Regions from separate parts of the Homo sapiens genome. Here region 1 is linked to region 2. Evidence: promoter capture Hi-C in 16 types of primary human blood cells and fetal thymus (Javierre and others, 2016). All regions are on one chromosome and are shown on one strand. Each heading gives the region's core, a stretch centred on a gene start or on the middle of the fragment in contact. The rest is flanking DNA. Distances are from core to core; before and after follow the strand shown. Region 1 holds the start of KDM2A (lysine demethylase 2A). Region 2 holds the start of NDUFS8 (NADH:ubiquinone oxidoreductase core subunit S8).

The links. Contacts are between HindIII fragments. The CHiCAGO score rates a contact against its expected background, and 5 or more counts as called.
Region 1: the fragment with the promoter of KDM2A here is called in contact with the fragment with the promoter of NDUFS8 in region 2 in 1 of 17 cell types (neutrophils); the score reaches 10.2 in neutrophils.

Annotation. Positions count from the first base shown.
Region 1 is chr11:67,117,884-67,121,169 of GRCh38, reverse strand. KDM2A (lysine demethylase 2A) reads right to left here and starts at 1,907. Exons shown (of 21, transcript NM_012308.3): 1 at 1,121-1,907. It overlaps LOC107984341 (a long non-coding RNA gene), which reads left to right and starts at 2,822. Exons shown (of 2, transcript NR_160735.1): 1 at 2,822-3,286. RefSeq lists silencers at 766-855, 1,381-1,520, 1,701-1,770, 1,911-2,350, 2,531-2,810 and 1 more and an enhancer at 2,421-2,470. The HindIII fragment of the contact is 9,806 bases long and covers 1-3,286 here.
Region 2 is chr11:68,029,414-68,032,113 of GRCh38, reverse strand. NDUFS8 (NADH:ubiquinone oxidoreductase core subunit S8) reads right to left here and starts at 1,433. Exons shown (of 7, transcript NM_002496.4): 1 at 1,381-1,433. It overlaps GLTC1 (glycolysis associated regulator of LDHA post-transcriptional modification 1), which reads left to right and starts at 1,680. Exons shown (of 4, transcript NR_197583.1): 1 at 1,680-1,821; 2 at 2,694-2,700. RefSeq lists enhancers at 1,227-1,406, 1,398-1,692. The HindIII fragment of the contact is 7,666 bases long and covers 1-2,700 here.

The DNA of each region.
Region 1 (3,286 bases), core at 658-3,157, 910 kb after region 2:
AAAGGAGTATTTAAGGTAAGTGTTAAAGGCTCTCTGAAAAATCAGGTTCCTCTTCATGAGTTTGGGACCTTTCTGCTCTTGGGCAAGTGGTTCCATGTCATGTTCAACATTAATCACATTACAACTGTCGGAGGCCTAGACGAAACGAGATGTTGGTTTCAGTTCCTTGTGGAAGGGCCACACCACCAGTTTCTCCCCACAGGATTACAACTAGCAAGGATCTCCTTCATGGCAGCATCAGCAAGAAAAAAAAAAAGCCCAGGACTTTTATCTCCAGAGAGCTGACCAGGTGAAGCACCACTGAACTAATCCAGATCCTAACCAAATTAGTTCTCTCTCACCGGTAATCAGAAACTAAAGGAAAGAAGGGCAAACTGACTATGTAAAAAGAGGACAAAAAATTAGGATTTAAATGACCCCAAAACAATTTCCCATACCCCTCCTGTAAGGCCGTGCACAATCGTCGCCTTCCTTTCTAGACTCCCCGGATCTTATCATTCCCAAATCTACCCTCCACCCCAACACAAGATGTGCACAACTCTGAAACAAATTTCAGAGGTGCAAATCAAGGACCAAAATTCCATCTGATCTTTTTGGATAAAGTAATAAAATAAACGATTGCATCTAAGGATACAAGGAAAATACATCTTGTCCAAAAATTAAATAAAAGACCGGCCGGCGCGACGGTCAATCCGTAATACCAAGAAAGGGTTTTCTTTTTTCTAAATATTCTCGTGGATAATGGCTTCCATTGAGAACACAGGTTCCCCCCGTTTTTGTCACTACATTACAGCCACGTTAACAGCATCCTTTCAAAACTGCTACGAGACCAGAGGACCCGATGACACAGTTTGCAGAGCAGTTAGAGGCAGAGCCCTCCCGGAGGAAGCCCTGGCCCGAAGTCGGGAGGGAAACCGTGCTTGCACCCCCTGGGCGACGACCGCCTGGGCATGGAGCAGCCAGGGCCGGAGAGGAAAAAGGGCGAATCTCGCTGGGCTCCCCCAGGAAAAGGCGTTTCAATGGTTCACCCATCGGAAAAAGAGATAGAAACTTTGCATTCAGTCTTTGGATAACACAGTCAACCAAACTTCCAAATGAGGGGGGGGAGGGGGAAACTCACCGGAGATTCTGCTCTTGAGTTCTTGTCCAAGTGAGAAGTAAAAGATTCCAAAGCTGAGAGGAATAATTAAATCCCAAACGTCGTCTTCGGTTTTTCCGTGGATCAACCCAGTATCCAGAGAGGGTCAGAGCGACCAGGAAAAGGGAGCAAACAGTTGCTGAATCAAACCTTCTCTTCTGGCTTTGGAGACCGGGAGTCGGAGGCGTCAGGAGAGAGGAGCGCGACCCCTCGGCGCCGAGCCCGGGGCGCCCCCGCCTCCCCCAGGCCAGCGGTCAGCAGCCCGGGCCCGAGCCCCGGGCCGGCCCCGGCCGCAGGGAGCGCCCTCCTCGCCGTGCCCTCGGCCAGCAGGGGCTGGTCGCCTGCGGGAGCAGCGGCCGATCAGCTGAGACCGGCCGGCCCGAGGCTCCCCGCGCCGCCCCGGCCCCCCGGAACGCGGGCCCCGGCCCCGGGGGGCGGACAGGGCGGGAGCGGCGCGGCGCGCCGGGATGGGGGCCCTGGCTCCCCTCGCGTCTCCCCCTCAGGTCTGGCTCCGCGCTGCGGGACGAGCCCCCCGGCTACTCCCCAGTCGCAGAAGAGGGATTCCGGGGGATGGGCCCCCTGGCGTTGCCCCTCCTCCCGGAGCGTCCCCTGCCCAGGAAAGACAGAGCGGCCACGGGCCCAGCCGCTGGGAAGGTGCTCCGAGAGCCGCCGCCGCCGCCGCCGCTGCCGGGGAGGGGTGTTGTTTCCCTCACACAGGAGGAGCCGCTGAAGCAGCCGCCGCCATTTTGAACCCGTCAGACTCTCACATACACACAGCTCCTCCGAGGCGCACTGCGCAGGCGCCACCTCCCCACCCCTCCTCCAGCTCGCCTCTCCACCCCCCCACCCCCTTCAGGCCTCCCTGCGCTTCTTACCGCTCTCCCGGGCGCGCGTGAACGCGCACGCGTCACTCCCCTCTAACGCGGACACACCGCCGGCGCGCGCACGCGCGGATGCGTCGGCCTCGAATCGCCCGCGCCCCGCGACGCCGACGCGGCTCCCTGCGCCCCCTCGCGTCAGGCCGCCCGCCCTCCCTCCCTCCCGCCAGCCCGCCGCCCCCGCTCCCCGTCGGCGTTCTTCCAGGGCTCGGGCCTGGCTGGCTGCTCGCGCCTGCGCGCAGGGCACCGATCCTCCTCCGCGCGCCCTCCCCCCACACACCCTCACACACACTTCGCCTCTGCGACCCCGCCCCTCGCGGCCAGCTGTGCTGGCCGCCCTCCCCCACCCCCCTGGGAGGGTGGTGACCCCCGACCCCCCACAAAGCACATCACCCCCCCCAAGCAGTGGGAGATCTGCGTCCCCTTCCCCTTCAACCGCCTTTGGCCCCAGGCTGCCCGTCACAGTCACACAACCTGAGGGCCGGGAGGCCTGGGCCAGGGCAACCGATACCCGCCTCAAAGCAGGGTCTCCCGGGGTCAAGCCGCCGGGCTGGGCCCGCGGGACCTGGGCTCCCGGCTCAGGCCTGCCCAGGGCGAGAGGGCGCAGGGAAGGGGCGCATGGCCGCCGGCTGCCCTCCCTTCGCGTGCCGGCCGGTGGGCCGAGGCCGGCTTGCCCGCCATTCCCGGGCAGGCCCCGGCGCCGCCGCCACGGGGCCCGTCTGCCCTGGGCCCGGGGGCTCCTCGGTGCAGCGGCCTGGCCCCGCCTCACCCACTGCTCGTCGCTCCGAAGGGGCAGGAAACAGGAGTAGCATGTCTGTCCTGGGCTCGGCTCCCCGGGGGTGCTGCAGGCGCTTAACAAGGGCGTCCACAGGTACCAGGCGCAGAAGCGGTCTCCGCGACGGCCCGGGGGCGGTGGCGGCCGGCGCGCCCACCGCCGGCCGGAGGCGCCCGGCGAGGTGGCCCAGGAAGCCCCCGCTCCTCGGCCACGCTCAGCTTTCCGCCGCGCCGGTGCCCCCGGCGGCCCGGGTGGGACGTGACCCCGCCCCCGGCGAGTCGGGGCGCCCCCCACGGAGGGGTGCGCGGGCCGCCCCCGGCCCCCGGCCCGACCCTGCCGCCCTGGGCCGTGGCGGGCGCGGGAGGCCCGGCCGGGAAGATGTCTCCTGTTGGTGCGCGCAGCTTCGCGCGGGGGTCAGCGACGGGGCAGCAGCCGCCCGAGCTGCGCCGGCCCTGCCCACGGACCGACTCCCGCGGCCCGACAGCTGCCCGACGG
Region 2 (2,700 bases), core at 184-2,683:
AAGAACCATCCTCTTCTGAGACTGGCACCGCAAGGATCCCAAGTCTCCACTGACATGTGTCACTTTGCCCTCTACTCGCACCCCATTGCTGTCAGAGGCACAGATGGCTTTCCTGTTCCCAGCGCCTCCCAGCTTTCCATCTGATTCAGCTTGGCTGAGCTACAATTCAGTTTCTGTGGACCCCAAGTTCTGCCTCACCTAAGAAACCTTTTAAATCCATCCTTCCTTTCTCCCTCCCAGAGATCCTGTTTCCCACCTTTCTGCTCCTCCCTTCATCCTCCCCAAATCTAACCAAAAACAACATTACCAGCCCCCGCCAGCATGCACTGAGAGCGAACTTTGTTAGCTCTCCTCCCCCAGGAACCGTGCCCAGGGGTGGAAAGCGCTGCCATCCTATCCTTACAAGGACTCCACGAGGGAGGCACAAATAAGGCGCTGGGACTCAGTTTGTTGAGTGACTCGCTAGGGCTGGGTGTGGTGGCTCACGCCTGTAATCCCAGCACTTTGGGAGGCTGAGGCAGGTGGATCACCTGAGGTCAGGAGTTTGAGACCAGCCTGGCTAACATGGTGGAACCCCGTCCCTACCAAAAAATACAGAAATTAGCCAGGTGTGGTGGTGGGCACTTATAATCCCAGCTACTCGGGAGGTTGAGGTAGGAGAATCGCTTGAACCCAGGAGGCAGAAGTTGCAGTGAGCCCAGACTGCACCACTGCCCTCCAACCTGGGCGACAGAGTGAGACCTTGTCTCAAAAAAAAGATAAAAAAGTGACTTGTCGGAAGTCACACGATAAGGAGGTGGGCCGAGGATCGGAACCCAGCCCTGCCCTGCTGGAAACTCTTCAAGGCCTGAACAGTCCTCGGTACCACATTCCTTTCCCCAGCTTCAAGGCCCTCCTGGAACTGTCCCCCAGCCTGCCGCGTGACCTTGGGCAGATGATGTGACCTGACCTCCGTCTTCTCACCTATGAAGTGGGTTGGGGGCGGTTGGTCTTGGGAATTAGGGGAGCCCGTACATGCCAAGGGCACCCCAGAGCCCGGCACTTAGCCGGCGCTCATAAGAGCTCATCCCACGACCTGTGAACCCCCTAACAGGCCCACTCCTTTGGATCACTGACTGCAGTTCCAGGGACCCAACCCAGCACCTTCCCCACCTTCCCAGTGATCTCCGACCCTAACTAGGCCGGTGGCGCAGAGCGGGCGGCGCATGCGCCCTGAGAGCCGGCTCCCCGCTGCACCTGAAGGACACGGAGGCCGCGGATCCTGAGTGAGCCGAGGGGAAGCCCAGGCGCAGAGCTGGCGGCGCCAACGGGGACACCACACTCGCCCCCGACGCCACGCTGCCCAAGCCCGACTTTCACGGCCAAAACGTGAACACCCACCTTGAAGCGCCGCCGCTACTTGCCTTGCCAAGCAGGCCAGTCAATCGGGAGGCGGAGGCTACACTGTAGGACGCTGCCATTGGGCCAGCGGGTTCCCCCTTTTCTGTATTGATGCTTCATGGTGTGGTCTGATTGGCCAGCAAGGCTGCTGAAAGAGGCGGGATTCAGAAATATCTTTCTTTTGATTGGCTAGGAGAGACCGGCGCTTGAAGTTTGTAGGGGGCCGCCATGTTGGTTTGGGGAGGCCAATAAGTGAAGACCTCCGAGCCGCTGGAGGCGGGACATCCGGGGCGTGGTTTAGAAAGAGTGCTTTCGCCGTGGGTGCAGAGGGTGGGCCCGCCGGGTTGGGTGGGGGGCGTGTGATGACGGTAATGGCGACGAGATGCTCAACTCACGCGGCCTCTTTTAATCCTCACAGCAGCTCTGCGTGGAGAAACTACAGTAACGTGTTACCACGTTAAGGCGGGAAGCTGAGGCATGGGAGTATTTAGTAACGTTCCCGGGCCGTAGAGCTGCGGTGTGCGGCCGCCTGATCCACCTGATCTGTATGACTCCCGTACTCAACCAGCCTATGTTTCCTACCAGCGAATTTTTTTTTTTTTTTTTTTTTTTTTCTTTTTTTGAGACAATCTGGCTCTGTGGCTCAGGCTGGAATGCAGTGGTGCGATCTCGGCTCACTGCAGCCTCGACCTCCCAGGCTCGGGTGATCCTCACTTCTCAGCCTCCCGAGCAGCTGGAACCACAGTCGCCTGCCACCACCAGGCTCGGCTAATTTTTGTATTTTTTGTAGAGACGGGGTCTCGCCATGTTGCCCAGGCTGGTCTGGAACTCCTGGACTCAGGCGATCCTCCTGCCTCGGCCTGCCAAAGTGCTGGGATTACAGGCGTGAGCCACCACGCCGGGCCTTTCCCCGGGAATGCTGTGGTAGAGGGACCCGCAGAGGCCCCGAGGCTGCCTGCATGTGTGTGTTGGGAGGATCTGCGCTGAGGGTAGGTAGGAGTTGGGCAGGCCAGGACAGGAAGGAGGCAGAGGGCATGTCCCATGCCCGTGCAGAGGGAGGACACGCATGGTAGACCAGGACGAGGACAAGGGCAGGCTCAGTGTGTGCAAAGGGGACAGTGGTTTGGGATTTGCATGCAGATGCCCGAGCCTCCAAAGGACCTGTGGGCCACAGGGAGACCCTGGGGGAGTTCAAGCTGAGGAGTGGAGAGGGCTTTGGGCTGGTCAGCAGGTGCTCAGAGGAGAGGGGCTGGCCCTAGAGAGAAGGGAGGTCTTGGGATGGTGGCCCACACCTGACCCTGGCCCTTCATCAGGTGATTC